Linked DNA regions of Homo sapiens: all the other regions are linked to region 3. The links are contacts of gene promoters, found by promoter capture Hi-C in human tissues and cell types (Jung and others, 2019). All regions are on one chromosome and are shown on one strand. The core of a region is centred on a gene start or on the middle of the fragment in contact, and the rest is flanking DNA. Distances in the headings are between cores, read along the strand shown. Region 1 overlaps LOC105373053 (a long non-coding RNA gene). Region 2 overlaps MPPED1 (metallophosphoesterase domain containing 1). Region 3 holds the start of MPPED1 (metallophosphoesterase domain containing 1).

The links. The method cuts DNA at HindIII sites, captures the fragments that hold promoters and counts their contacts. A contact is called where the count stands out against the background at its distance.
Region 1: a fragment that was not itself captured here is called in contact with the fragment with the promoter of MPPED1 in region 3 in 8 of the 25 tissues and cell types used here (IMR-90 fibroblasts, adrenal gland, dorsolateral prefrontal cortex and 5 more).
Region 2: a fragment that was not itself captured here is called in contact with the fragment with the promoter of MPPED1 in region 3 in 2 of the 25 tissues and cell types used here (aorta and dorsolateral prefrontal cortex).

The regions. Positions count from the first base shown.
Region 1 is chr22:43,369,620-43,374,237 of GRCh38, forward strand. LOC105373053 (a long non-coding RNA gene) reads right to left here. Exons shown (of 4, transcript XR_938288.3): 4 at 4,375-4,413. Among named protein-coding and RNA genes, the nearest start is that of LINC01639, 28 kb to the right of the region's middle. RefSeq lists an enhancer at 14-515. The HindIII fragment of the contact is 5,607 bases long and covers 157-4,618 here.
Region 2 is chr22:43,454,923-43,459,548 of GRCh38, forward strand. All of the region lies in intron 3 of MPPED1 (metallophosphoesterase domain containing 1), which reads left to right. Among named protein-coding and RNA genes, the nearest start is that of MPPED1, 45 kb to the left of the region's middle. The HindIII fragment of the contact is 9,403 bases long and covers 1-4,626 here.
Region 3 is chr22:43,410,025-43,414,716 of GRCh38, forward strand. It overlaps MPPED1 (metallophosphoesterase domain containing 1), which reads left to right and starts at 1,990. Exons shown (of 7, transcript NM_001044370.2): 1 at 1,990-2,134. The HindIII fragment of the contact is 18,974 bases long and covers 1-4,692 here.

The sequences.
Region 1 (4,618 bases), core at 1,710-4,209, 39 kb before region 3:
ATCTGAAACTCCCAGAGGAAGGAGGTTGTCTCCATTACTGAGTTTGACAGGAAGAGAAAAAGAGGGGCGTGGTGGATATGCAGTGGTGTCTAATACTCAGCCTCAGATGATCTGTTGTGGGGGCCATCACTTGGCCCTCTTACGTAAAAGCTGCCGCCCACAGTGAGTCAGTGTGGGGGACATCTGGGAAAGAGGCAGGGAGTCCCATCTGGACTGGGGAGTGGGGACCAGGGTGGGATTGGAGATGGGATGAGGGTCTCCTGCCTCCCTGGGGCACCACTGCTCTGTGGATTCTACTTTGTCTCTGTGACCTCAGGTGCTTGGTGTGTCTCTTGGGGGCCTCTTATGTCCGTGCCCATGTCATTAGCGTGTGAGGTGACAGCCCTCTGCCGCCCCAGCTTCTTTTTTGGAGCACGGGTCTCAGATGAGGGGCTGGCTGAGCAGCTGTGGGAGGACCCCTCATTTGCAACTGACATCGATAGGTCAAGCCCAGCAGCCCCTGAATGAGCAGGAAGATTGGTGCAGCTGGGGTCTTCCACAGGCAGGCGATTCCCTCCCTGCTGGGATCGTCAACCAATCTGGGGCCGTAACTCACACGGGGAACCACCCCCAACCCCCAACCACCGTGCTTGGTGTTGGAGGGCCAGAGGGTGTCTCCCAAGTCAAAGACAAAGTCTCCAGGGCAAACAGGAAAAGCCATGGCTACCCCGTCCCCGGGGCCTCACCTGGCAGCCCTGGCTTGCAGGCTCTGTCTAGGATCCGGGAACAGTGTTTATTTCTTCTCTTTATTTTTAGCTTTTATTTTCATGAAACTTATACAGGCAAATAGCTCTACAAGGTTTGTTAAGAGGAACAGCAGTTCCCTGTTCCTGTCCTTCACCCCCTCCTGTCCCCTCCCCAGAGGCAACTATTTCACCTCCTTTAACCAATTATTTTGTTTTTACCCTGTGTCATTTGCCTCTGAGACTGCATCTTTTTTTTTTTTTTTTTGTGACGGAGTCTTTGCTCTGTCGCCCAGACTGGAGTGCAGTGGCATGATCTCGGCTTATTGTAATCTCTTCCTCCTGGGTTCAAGTGATTTTCCTGCCTCAGCCTCTTGAGTAGCTGGGATTACAGGCGCCCGCCACCACACCTGGCTGATTTTTGTATTTTTAGTACAGGTGGGGTTTTGCCATGTTGCTCAGGCTGGTCTTGAACTCCTGACCTCAGGTGATCTGCCTGCCTCAGCCTCCCAAAGTGCTGGGATTACAGGCATGAGCCACTCTGCCTGGCCTCTGAGACTCCATCTTGATTTTTTTTTTTTTTAGTTGTCAGCCTCATTGGTTGACCTCTGTTTCTGGAAGGTGAGGATATCGCTGCCTCCTGACCCCTACTCACTGTGCGCACCTGCCCCCCACCCTCAGACCTGTTTTTAGGACACCAGCATTGTCAGTGGTGAAGGGCATGGAGTTCTAAGCCACTTTTCCGGGTTCTAGTCCTCCTTCTGCCACTTAGCTGTGTGATCCTGGACAAATTCTTCAGCCTCTTGGTTGATTGCCTTCTACCTGGCCTTGCTTTCAATGAGTCAATTCATGTAAATGGCTTCCAGCAGCAAATAAATGACTGTCCTCTTTGTCAACCTTTTCCGCACAGTCGCACTCCCTACCCCGACCCCAGCAAATCATTTTCGTGGTTTCTCCTTTGCATCGTTCTCTAGACAATTGTTGCTAGTTCAGTCCTGCCCTTTCCTCGCAGGGCTTCGAGATGCACTGGGGTCTTCACGCCCATCTGCCCAGGGAAGCTGGAGCCTGGTGCCCCATGCCTATAGGGCATCCCGCCTCCAGCAACCTGGGATCCCCCTTGCCTTTCTCTTTTTCCCATATCCCATATTTTCCTCTTTCTTGATTTAGCCCTTATTCTAGTGAAGTATCTTCTCTAGTAATCTTCAGAGAAAGCATGTAAGGAAAGCAGTCTATTCTCATTATTCACACCAGTTACGGTCTATAAAGTCACCAAAAATGCTGAATTACCCAACACTAAGCCAATGCTCCAAGAGGGAAATACAGGGTTCCATTCCTATGAGTCTGGGGTCACAGTGTTGTCACCAACTGATCAACACATAACTTTGTTTTATATATATTTCTGTTTAAAGATACCCTATTTAATATATATTGTTGACTCATTAACACTGAGCTCATGGCCAACAGCACTCTAACTCCTGCCTGAACGAAGCTTCTCTAACGTGGGCTTTCCCTGTAAGGCATACCCCAGACTTCCTGCACTTAGGAACACTAGACAGCTGTATTAGTCCATTTTCATGCTGCTGATAAAGACTTACCTGAGACTGGGCAATTTACAACAGAAAGAGGTTTAACTGGATTTACAGTTCCATGTGGCTGGGGAGGCCTCATAATCATGGTAGAAGGCATGGAGGAGCAAGTCCCATCTCACGTGGATGGTCGCAGACAAAGAGGAAAGGAAAATTCCGCTTATAATAACCATAAGATCTCGTGAGACTCACTATCACCAGAACAGCACGGGAAAGACCTACCCCCATGATTCAATTACCTCCTACTGGGCCCCTCCCACAACACGTGGGAATTCAAGATGAGATTTCGGTGGGGACACAGCCAAACCATATCAACAGCCCTTCAGCACTGCGCTTGGGGGTGGGGGTCATTTAAAACAGTGAAATCAGCTGGGCACGGTGGCTCAAGACCAGCCTGGCCAATATGGTGAAACCCTCATCTCTACTAAAAATACAAAAACTAGCCAGGTGTGGTGGCGCTTGCCTGCAACTCCAGCTACTAGGGAGGCTGAGGCAAGAGAATTGCTTGAACCTGGGAGGCGGAGGTTACAGTGAGTGGAGATCACGCCGCTGCATTCCAGCCTGGGTGACAGAGTGAGACGCTGTCTCAAACAAAACAAAACAAAACAACAACAACCAAAAAATCCAGGCCAGGCACAGTAGCTCATGCCTGTAATCCCAGCACTTTGGGAGGCTGAGGTGGGTGGATCACATGAGGTCAGGAGTTCAAGACCAGCCTGGCCAACATGGTGAAACCCCGTCTCTACTAAAAATATAAAAATTAGTCAAGTGTAGTGACATATGTCTGTAATCCCAGCTACTCGGGAGGCTGAGGCATGAGAATTGCTTGAACCTGGGAGGCAGAAGTTGCAGCGAGCTGAGATCGCGCCATTGCACTCGAGCCCGGGTGATAAAGCGAGACTCCATTTCAAAAAAAAAAAAAAAAAAGCCAAAAGCAAAACCAAACCAAAACAAAAAACAATCCAGTGAAATATCAACAAAAAGCACAAAAAATATGAAAAACATGACACTAACTAGACTGCAAAAAGGACACTTGTTTACATCATCAGAGTCAAAACAAGAAGGCAGAGGGTCACCTTTTTCAACCTTAGCTGGAAACATGCACATCAAGTGACTCAAATTTTTGCTGCTGTACGCATGTCTGCAGATGACTGCAAAAGCTGTGTGGATACTAGTTTGGTGGTTACAAATATATTTTATTGATTAAATGAATTCAAAAATATGGAATCCAAGAATAATGAGGACTGACTATATGTGTTTCAAGACCTTGCATGTCTAAAAATCTCTTCATTCTATCCTCTCATTTGACTGATAGCTTGGCTGGGTAAAGAAATATAGGTTGGGGCTAGGCGTGGTGGCTCACACCTGTAGCCCTAGCACTTTGGGAGGGCAGATTGCCTGAGGTCAGCGGTTCGAGACGAGCCTGGGCAACGTGGTAAAACCCTGTCTCTACTAAAAATACAAAAAATTAAAAAATTAGCCAGGGATGGTGGCACGTGCCTGTAGTCCCAGCTACTCGGGAGGCTGAGGTGGGAGAATAGCTTGAACCCAGGAAGCGGAGGTTGCAGTGGGCTGAGATTGTGCCACTGCACTCCAGCCTGGGAGACAAGAGCGAGACTCTGTCTCAAAACAACAATAATAACAACAACAACAACACCACCCAAAGAAACCTAGGTTGGAAACACTTCTCCTTCAGCATTTCATAGCATTGCTCCTGCACCTGCTGGCTGTCAATGTTGCTGTCAAGAAGTCCAGAGCTATTCCTGCCATTTCTTCTTCCTGGAAGCTTCTCTTCATCCTGGAGGCTCATTTTTCATGATGATGTGTCATATTAGGGCTCTCTTTTTATGGCTTGCCTGAAGAAGTACTTGGTGGATCCTTGTACTTTTTAAAATTTAGGTCCTTTAATTTTGAAAAACTCCCCAAATTATTTATTAATCTCTTCCCCCACTTTCTCTGGTCTTTCTGGACCTTCTGTTAACTGGATGTAGGCTGGGTGCAGTGGCTCACGCCTGTAATCCTAGCACTTTGGGAGGCTGAGGTGGGCAGATTGCTTGAGTCCAGGAGTTTGAGACCAGCCTGGGCAACACGGTGAAACCCCGTCTCTACAAAAATAAAATAAAATATATAAATAAATAAATGGATGTCTTGAACTGCTCCATTGTTTTTTTCCCCACTTCTGTATGAAGTCTCTCCAGAGAAACAGAACCAACTGTGTGTGTGTGTGTGTGTGTGTGTCTCATGAGAGAAGTCCCGCAATCTGCTGTCTGAAAGCTGGAGACTCAGGAAAGCTGGTGGTATAGCTCTGAG
Region 2 (4,626 bases), core at 991-3,490, 45 kb after region 3:
TTCCCTGACCATGTACCAGAGACTGGGAGGCTCAAACAGCAGAAGCCTATTGTCTCCCAGTTCTGGAGGCCAGAATCTGAGGTTGAGATATTAGCAGATTGGTTTCTTTTGAGGCCTCTCTCCTTGGCTTGCAGATGGCTGTCTTCTCACTGTGTCCTCATATGAGCTTCTCTGCCTCTCTGCCTTCATGTCCTTTTTTTTTTTTGAGACGAAGTCTTACTCTGTCACCCAGACTGGAGTGCAGTGGCGTGATCTCGGCCCACAGCAACCTCTGTCCCTGGGATTCAAGCGATTCTTCCTCCTCAGCCTCCAGAGTAGCTGGGATTACAGGTGCCCACTACCGTGCCCAGCTAATATTTGTATTTTTAGTAGAGATGGGGTTTCACCATGTTGGCCAGGCTGGTCTCAAACTCCTGACCTCAGGTGATCCATCCATCTCGGCCTCCCAAAGTGCTGGGATTACAGGCGTGAGCCACTGCGCCAGGTCAATGTCATCTTGTTACAGGGACACCAGTCATTGGATTAGAGCCCTCTCATATGACCTAATTTTACCTGAATTACCTCACTAAGGGTCCTGTCTCTAAATGCCATCCCATTCTGAGGTACTAGGGATTAAGACTTCAACATGTTCCTTTTGTGGAGGGGGAGACAATTTTTAGCCTATAACAGGTGAAACTGCCATCACTAGAGCTATTTTCTGTTTCCGACATACTTTTCAGAGCATTTTTGAATCTGTTGCAGGAAGCTATGGAAACCCATTCATAATCTCAGCAACATAACTACTCAGTGTAATTTCTCCATGTTGAATGATCAGCTATCAGCATTACTGTTGATTCTTTGAAGATAATGTGCCCTTTCCTCCACCCCAATTGCTTGAAAGTTTCTTGTCTTTGGTTTCAAGCACTTTGATTATTGTGTTAATTTCCTGAGGCTGCAGTAACAAGTTATCACAAGCTTCTTGGTTTAAGATAACAGAAATGTATCCTTTCACTGCTCTGGGGGTCAGAAATCTGACATTCAGGTGTCGGCAGGGCTGTGTTCCTTCTGGAGGCTCTGGTGAGGGAGAGGAAACAGGGAATCCTTCCTTGCCTCTTGTAGCTTGTGGTGGCTGTTGGCAACCTTTGGCTTCCTTGATTTGTGGCCACAAGATCATGTTTCTCTGTGAATAGAGACAGTTTTATTTCTTCCCTTCCGTTCTGGATGCTTTTATTTCTTTTTCATGCTTCATTGCCCCAGCTAGAACCTCAAGCATAATGTTGAATAGAAATGGCAAGAGTGAATGTCCTTGTTTTGTGACCAATCTTAGGAGGAAGACTTTTAGTCCTTCACTATTAAGTATGATGTTAGCTGTGGGATTTGTAATATGTATGTATTTATTTGTTTATTTAGAGACAGGGTCTCATTATATTGCCTAGGCTGGACTTGAGTGCCTGGGCTTAGGTGATTCTCCTGCCTCAGCCTCCCAAATAGCTGGGACTGCAGGTGTGCACCACCATGCCCAGCTCGCTGAGGGACCTTTAGAGATGCTCTTTGTCAGGTTCAGAAGATCTCTTCTATTCCCAGTTTGTTACGTGTTTTTTGTTTTGTTTAGAGACAGTGTCTTGCTCTGTCACCCAGACTGGGGTGCAGTGGTGCAATTTTGGCTAACTGCAACCTCTGCCTCCCAGGTTCAAGCGATTCCTGTGACTCAGCCTCCCAAGTAGCTGAGATTACAGATGTGCAGCACCATGCCTGGCTGATTTTTGTTTTTTTAGTAGAGACAGAGTTTTCGCCATGTTGGCCAGACTGGTCTTGAACTCCTGGCCTCAAATGATCCATCCACCTCAGCCTCCCAAAGTGCTGGGATTACAGGCGTGAGCCACCGCACCCGGTGTGTGTGTGTATGTGTTTTTAAATCATGAAAGGGTGTTTTATTTTGTCAAATGCTTTTCTGTGCCTGTTGAGATGATCATATGGTTTCCCCCTTATTATTACGGTATATTACATTAATTGTATGTTGAACCAACCTTACATTCCTGAGTTCAATCCCATTTGGTGATGGTGTATAATACCTTTTTATATGGTGTCTAATCCTTTGTTGCTTGATTTGACTTGCTAGTATTTTTTTGAGGATTTTGAGCCTATATTCAGAAGGAATATTGGTCTGTGGTTTTCTTTTCTTGTGATAGCTTTGTCTGGTTTTGGTATCAAAGCCTCCTAGACTGAGCTGGAAAGTGTTTTCTCCTCTTTTGCTTTTTGGAAGAGTTTGTCAAGGACTGGTGTTAATTCTTGAAATGTTTGATACAAATCGCCAGTGAAGCCATCTGTTGCTGGGCTTTTTATCATTATAAAATATTCTTCCTTTTCTCTAGTAACAATTTTTGTCTTCAAATCTATTTTTTTCTGATGCTGGTATAGCGACTACAGCTCTCTTTTGGCGTCTGGATACTGTTTGTATATCTTTTTCATTCTTTTACTTTCAACCCACTTGTTTCTTTGGATCTAAAGTGTGTCTTTTATAAACAGCATATAATTGGATTTTTAAAAAATTAAAAATTTTAATCTCTGCCTTCTTTTGACTGTACTGTTTAAGCATGTTATGTTTAATATAACTACTGACAAAGTAGGATTTATATCTGCCATTTTGCTTTTTGTTCTCTATATATCTTATATATTTTTTGTCCATCTTTTCTTCTATTACTGCCTTCTTTTGTGTTAAATAGATATTTTCTAGTTCACTATTTTAATTTCATTTCTTTTACTATATTGAAAAATTGTATTAGTTGTTGCCCTGGGCATTATAATTAAATTTTTTTTACCTTATAACAATCTAGTTTTGATTAATAGCAACCTAATTTCATAAATATACAAAAACTGTGCTCTAATGTAGAGTTCTATGCCCTCCCCCTCCTTTATGCTATTATTGTCATACAAATTACATTTTTGTGCATTATAAGCTCATTAACACAGTTTTATAACTACAGTCATGTGCTGTGTAATGATGTTTCTGTCAATGACAGACTGCATATACTACAGTGGTCCCATAAGATTATAACACTGTAATTTTACTTACTTTTCTATGTTTAGATATACAAATACTTACCATTGTGTTACGATTGCCTGGAGTATTCAGTACGATAACATGCTGTACAGGTTTGTAGCCTGTAGTGATAGGCTGTACTGTATAGCTTTGGTATGTAGTAGGCTGTATGATCTAGGTTTGCGTAAGTACACTCTGCTGTTTGTACAATATCAAAATCACCTAATGGTGCATTTCTCGGAATGCATCTCTGTCATTAACAGTCCATGACTGTATTCCTTAGTGTAGTTGTCTTTTAAACTGGATAGGAGAACAAAGGAGTTACAAACAGAAATACAATTGTACTGTCTTTTTTTTTTTTTTGAGACAGAGTCTCACTCTGTCACCAGGCTGGAGTGCAGTGTTGTGATCTCGGCTCACTGCAACCTCTGACCCCCTGGTTCAAGTGATTCTCCTGCCTCAGCCTCCCAAGTAGCTGGGATTACAGGCACGTGCCACCACACCCGGCTAATTTTTATATTTTTAGTAGAGACGGGGTTTCACCATGTTGGCCAGTCTGGTCTCTATCTCCTGACCTCGTGATCCGCCCGCCTCAGACTCCCAAAGTGCTGGGATTACAGGCATGAACCACCGCGCCTGGCCTGTACTGTCTTTTATATTTACCTGTGTAGCTACCTTTACCAGTGCTCTCTATTTCTTCATATGGATTTCAGTTGCTGTCTGGTGCCCTTTCATTTCAGTCTGAAAAAGTCTATTCAGTATTTTTTGTAGAGAGTGTCTGCTAGTGACAGATTCAGTTTGTTTCTGTTTATCTGGGAATGACTTAATTTCTCTATTTTTAAAGGATAGTTTTGCGGGATGTAGAATTGCTGGTCGACAGTCCTTCTTCCTAGCGTTTGTATATCCCACTGCCTTCTGGTTATTGTGGTTCCTGATGAGAAGCCAGCTGCTACTGAGGATTATTTGTGTGTGATGAGTGATTGTCTGCTTTCTGACAGTTTGATTATGATGTGTTTAGGTGTGGACCTCTTTGAGTTTATCATGTTTGGAGTTACTTGAAGTTCTTGGATGTGTAGATTAATGTTTTTCATCAAATTTGGGGAGGTTTTGCTATTGTTTCCTTTTCTTTTTTCTTTTTTTATTTTGTTTTTTTGATAGAGTCTCACTCTGTCACCCAGGCTGGATTGCAGTGGCTCAGTCTTGGCTTATTGCAACCTCTGCCTCCCAGGTTAAAGCAATTCTTGTGTCTCAGCCTCCCAAGTAGCTGGGACTATAGGTGCACCGTGCACACCACGATGCCAGCTAATTTTTGTATTTTCAGTAGAGACGGGGTTTTGCCATGATGGGGTATTGCCAGGCTGGTCTTGAACTCCTGGCTTCAAGTAATCCACTCACCTCAGCCTCCCAAAATGCTGGGATTACAGGCGTGAGCTATTGTTTGAGAATACAGCTATTGTTTCTTTAACTACTCTTTCTGTCCCCTCTCACTTTTCCTTTATGGCTCCTCTTACGCACACATGAGTGCACCCAATGGTGTCCCACAGGTCTCTGAGGCTCTGTTCATTTTTCTTCATTCTTTTTCCTTTCTGTTCCTCAAACTGGATGAT
Region 3 (4,692 bases), core at 740-3,239:
AGCAAGTGCCGAGTGCCAGGAATATGGTAGATGCTCAATAAATGTGTACCCTGGGAAGGTAAGAGATGATGCTCTGGGACTTGAGGGTAGTTCTGGTAGGACTGGAGGTGGTGGGGAAGCTGGCCTTGGAGGACAAGTGTCACAGGAACCTCTGCTCTCGACCCAGGGACCAGGAAGGCACATTTGTCACTGTCCTTTGTGATCTCCAGAGGCCACAGCCAAGCTGTGGCTTTGTCCCAGGCAGGCGGCAGGTGGGGTCTGCTGAGACACTGAGTCCAAGCCGCCTTCCCAGGCAGGCATGACAGTTTTCTCCTTCACCTCCCTCGAAGTCACGGTGCTCAGGAAGCCTGTAGCCTAGGAGGAGAAAGAGGCTCCCGGGTTGAGTTTGGGATTCCCTGAGAGAGAATTGGGGTCTAAAGACAAGGAAGCAGGAGGGGGTGACTGCCTCAGGACTCCTCGGCCAGCCCTTGCCCCCCATCTCTGGCCTGAGGGCCCCAGGCCTCCATCCTCTCCCTCCATAGCCCAGCCTCTCCCCCTCTACCTCTGTCTTTAGAGGTGCCAGAACAAGCTGTAAAAAGATAAACGTGACCAAGTCACAGCCCTGCTTAAAAACCCTCTATGGCTCCCACTGCCCCTGATAAAGTCTATCCAAGGCTCTTCCCGATCTGGCTTCTGTTCCCTCACTCCCAGCCTTGCCACCTCATCTTCCCTCCCTTGCTTTTCCTTTGTCTCTAGCCCCAATGAACTCACATGCCAAGGCCTTTGCATGCCGCATTCCCTCGGCCTGGATGTCTTTTCCAGGCCTTCTCTCCTGGCATACACTCATTCAACTGGGCTGTCCCCACCTCCAGGAAGCCACACCAGATAGCAGTCCTCAGGGGCAGAATAGGCCTGAGGGGCCCGCAGAGGGTGTCCTTGGGGATTGTGTGATGTGTGTGTTGGTGAAGGGAGACCCTACAAGCATTTGTTGAGGGGCTTTGGGCCTCTGAGGAGCCACAGCCCCTTTTCATCTTCCTCTCAGTCTGGGAGGCCCAGGCCAGAGTGATCTGCACCCTAACTATACAAGGCCCTGGAATCCCCGTCCCACCCGCGGCAAGGGGCTGGAAGCCACAGGGCCTTAAACTCCCCAGGGTGACCCCCGACACTGAAGGCGATGGTCTCTGCTCTTCCCAGCAAGGCAGGGCCTCTTTACACTGGGTGTCGCGCCGTCTGAGTTCCTGACTTGTTTACCCATCCCGTTGGGGCTCCGGCCGCTGCAGGCTACCTGCTGTGCCCGGGATTGGGGACCTGTGACTCCCGAGTGGAAGAGATGGTGGCCCAGGAGGAGGACCCCGACCTATTCAGACTGGGAGCTGGGGTCAGAGTGTCTCCGTCTCCGGAGGGGGACCTTCCAGACCCCGGGCGGGAGGGGCCCACAGCAGGGTGCCCCGGCGGCCCCAGGAGGGGGTCCGGGCCTCGGGCGAAGGCTGCGGCGCCCCGGAAGGAGCCGCGCACGCCCCTGCACGCGGTGCCCGCTGCGGAGGCCACGGATCCGGAGGTGAGAGCGCCCCCGCCCCGCTCCCTGCCCAGCCCGCGCGCGGCCCGGTCCGGGGCTGGGGGCGGGCGCCAAGAGGGGCGCCGGGCGCAGTGGGGCGGCCCCCTCCCTTTTCCGCAGCGCGGGCCCCGCTCCTCCTCCCGCGTCCAGGCCCGCGGCCGCGCTCCCTGTCCCTCCGCAGCGGGATGCGGACTCCGAGCCCGGGCGGGGGCCGAGGGCCGAGGCCTGGCGGGCCTGGCGGGGGCCCCGGCGGGTGGCGGCGCAAGGGCCGGGACCGAGGCCGCGAGCGCGCCCCTCCCGGCGGCCGGGCGCGGAGAGGCGGGGAGGGCGGGCGTGGGGAGGCGGGCGGCGGCGGGCGGGGGGAGCCAAGGAGGCTCGGAGCCTCGCGGCGCGCGGGCGGGCGGCGGAGGGGGCGCGGGGAGCCCCCCGCCCCACGAAGGAGGAGTCTGGCTCCCACTTGCAGCCTCGGACGCGCGGCGAGGCGGCCGCCGCCGGAGGAGCCCCCGCCCCTGCGCGCCTCCCTCCCGGGAGCCCCTGCCTCCCTCGGTGCGCGCTGCTGCTCGCAGCCGCCGCGGCCGCCGAAGAGGAGCCCGGGGCCAGGTAGGACCGGAGGCGGGCGGGGCGCGGCGGGCGCGGGCGGGAGGCCGGGCGCGGGGCGCGGCCGGGACCCTCTCCAGGCGCTGGGCGACGCCCGCGGCGCTGCGCAGGGGCGCCCGCAAAGTTACTTTGGCCGCCTTTGCCGGGTGCGGGAAGCGGGCTGGGCACCCCAGCTGCCCCGCCTGCCTAGCGGGCGGCGGCGGGAGGGGGCTCCGCCAGGGCGCGGGACTCCGGCTGGGGCCGCGGGGTCAGCGAAACTTTTCCCTTGCTCGCCAGTCGCTGCTGCTGCTGGCGGAGTAGCTGGTGGAAGCAGCGGGCTGGTGGAGTGCCAGTGATGATGATAGTGGTAACAATAGCAGCCCCCGCTTGTAGAGAGCCTACTGTGTGCGCTGCCAAGCCCCTGCTGGCACTTGGGGGGGAAGAGATAGGGAACGAACGCTGGCCGAGTGGCCACTTTTGCTAGGTATTGCTGGAAACTTCATCCATTTCCTTCCATCCATTCATCCCTCCCTCCCATCCATCCATCCATCCATCCATCCATCCATCCACTCACTCAACACATATTTATTCCTGTCTGCTATGTGCTCGGCCAGGGGATTCAGTGGCTACCTAGACAGGTCCCAGCCCTCAAAGGGAATGTTGATCATGGAATGCCCAAACTAAGGAGCAGTTCTGTCTCCTGTGTGTTTGTTCTGGGACATGTTACGGGAGCGTGAATTCATGCTGTCTCCCTTCACCCTGGCAGGGCCAGAGGCGTGTCATTCAGAGCACTGATGTGCCCAGGAGTCTGGCAGGCCCCGGCCTGGCCTTCGGAACTCACCCTGCTCCTTTCCCTCCCACCTCTCCGGGCTCAAGCTGGGTGGCCCAGTTGGTGTCAGGAGGCTCCACTCCGGAACTGGCCCCCACCCCTGTCCAGCTGACCTCTCTGGGATGTCTCTTCCCCAGTGCTGGGCTGGCCTGGCTCCCAGCTCCCCTCCCAGAGTTTCTTTGCCTTCCCCCTCCCCATTTCCCCTGCTCTATTGAATGGCCCAGAGGAGAGCTTGTTAAGTGGCAAACAATTATGAAATTAAACTGGGGGAACAAAAGTGGGCTGGCTGTTGAATGGCGGAGCTGGCTCACGGGAGTTGAATGGCACTGGGAGACTTGTTAGCAGGGATCTGCGGCGCCGGGGGGCGGGGGCGGGTCAGGCAGACAGGCACTGTCAATAATCTGACTGGACTTTGCAAAAAAAAAAAAAAAATTAAACCAACTTGGTGAGAAACCTGGCACAGGGCGATGTTGGAGAGGCCACCAGCTGACTGCCACGTCCAGTCGGAAGCCAGATCTTGGTGTACAGGAGCCAGGGCTCTAAGAGACTATTTGGGGAGGGTGCTGATGGATTCGGCCGGGCTGAGGCAGGGGAGAACCTCAATGCGTTTGAGCTTGTGGTGCTAGGGAGGCATTCTGGAGCCAGGCGCAGTCTGCAGGGGCCCTCTGTGTGGGAACCACGCATGATAAACTGCGCTTCACCGTGCTGGGCTCCTTGCAAATTGGCTTTCTGAGTGGCAGCCCCACAACACTTGTAAAATCTTTTTCTGGAGATGGATTTCGGTGGAATGGTTCCATCGATTCTAGTGCTTGCTCACTGGAGGTACATTAATTGGGCGATGGCTAGTCAAAAGGCGATAATCCAGTCACGGAGGCTTAATCGTGTGTTCGGAAGTGTTTCAGTGTGGGACTGCCTTCCTATTTATTTCTCGGCCCCAGGAATTTCGGAAGACCTGGATTGAATGAGGTCCCTGTACTGGTGATGTGGATGGGTTCAGAGAGTCACCTACATGGCCGAGGAGGTACCTCTGATGTAACCACCCCGTGGTACGCTTAGAATCACTCACATCCACCCTGGCTGATGCCCCGTGGGCTATGCCTGTAGACAGATAGGACAGGTTTAGATCTAGGCGAACAATAAGAATTTTAGGGTGTTTTACTTGAGCCCCAACTGTCAGGAATACACAGACTGATGTAGGGAATCATCGTTCTTGAAAAGCCTGCTTTTAATAAATTCCCAGCTCACCCATGAGACTCTTAAATCTTCATCCAATGAATGTGGCTTAAGTTCATTTGTTCTTCTTTGAACTTTGCTACCTTCCCAACTAGGCAGTACGGGCCTTGGTATGCTCACTTTATACAGGACACATCTCTCTCTGCTTGTTTGAGGAATGACGGTGGTCGCTGGGATTCCGTGAAGGGCAGCATTAAGGAGAAAAATCAGCATTCTGGGTGCGGGTCTGGACTTCTGGAAAAAAAGAAAACCCTCCCCAAAGTGCAATCATCTTTTAGTCTATCAAAATGACTTCATTTTCCCAATTTCAGGCCTGTGAACTGATCATGAATACCGGGGGCAGAGGAAATTAATCAGCCAGGCAAAGACTTTTAACAAGTAAATATTATGCACAGAAAAACATGCAATTAGTGGAGGTTAGTTAATGCCTTTCAAGTTGCATCAGGCTGCAGTTAAGGGTGGAATTTCTGCGTTATCCCTGGATTGTCTGTCAAAGTCTTTAATGTGACAATGTGACATG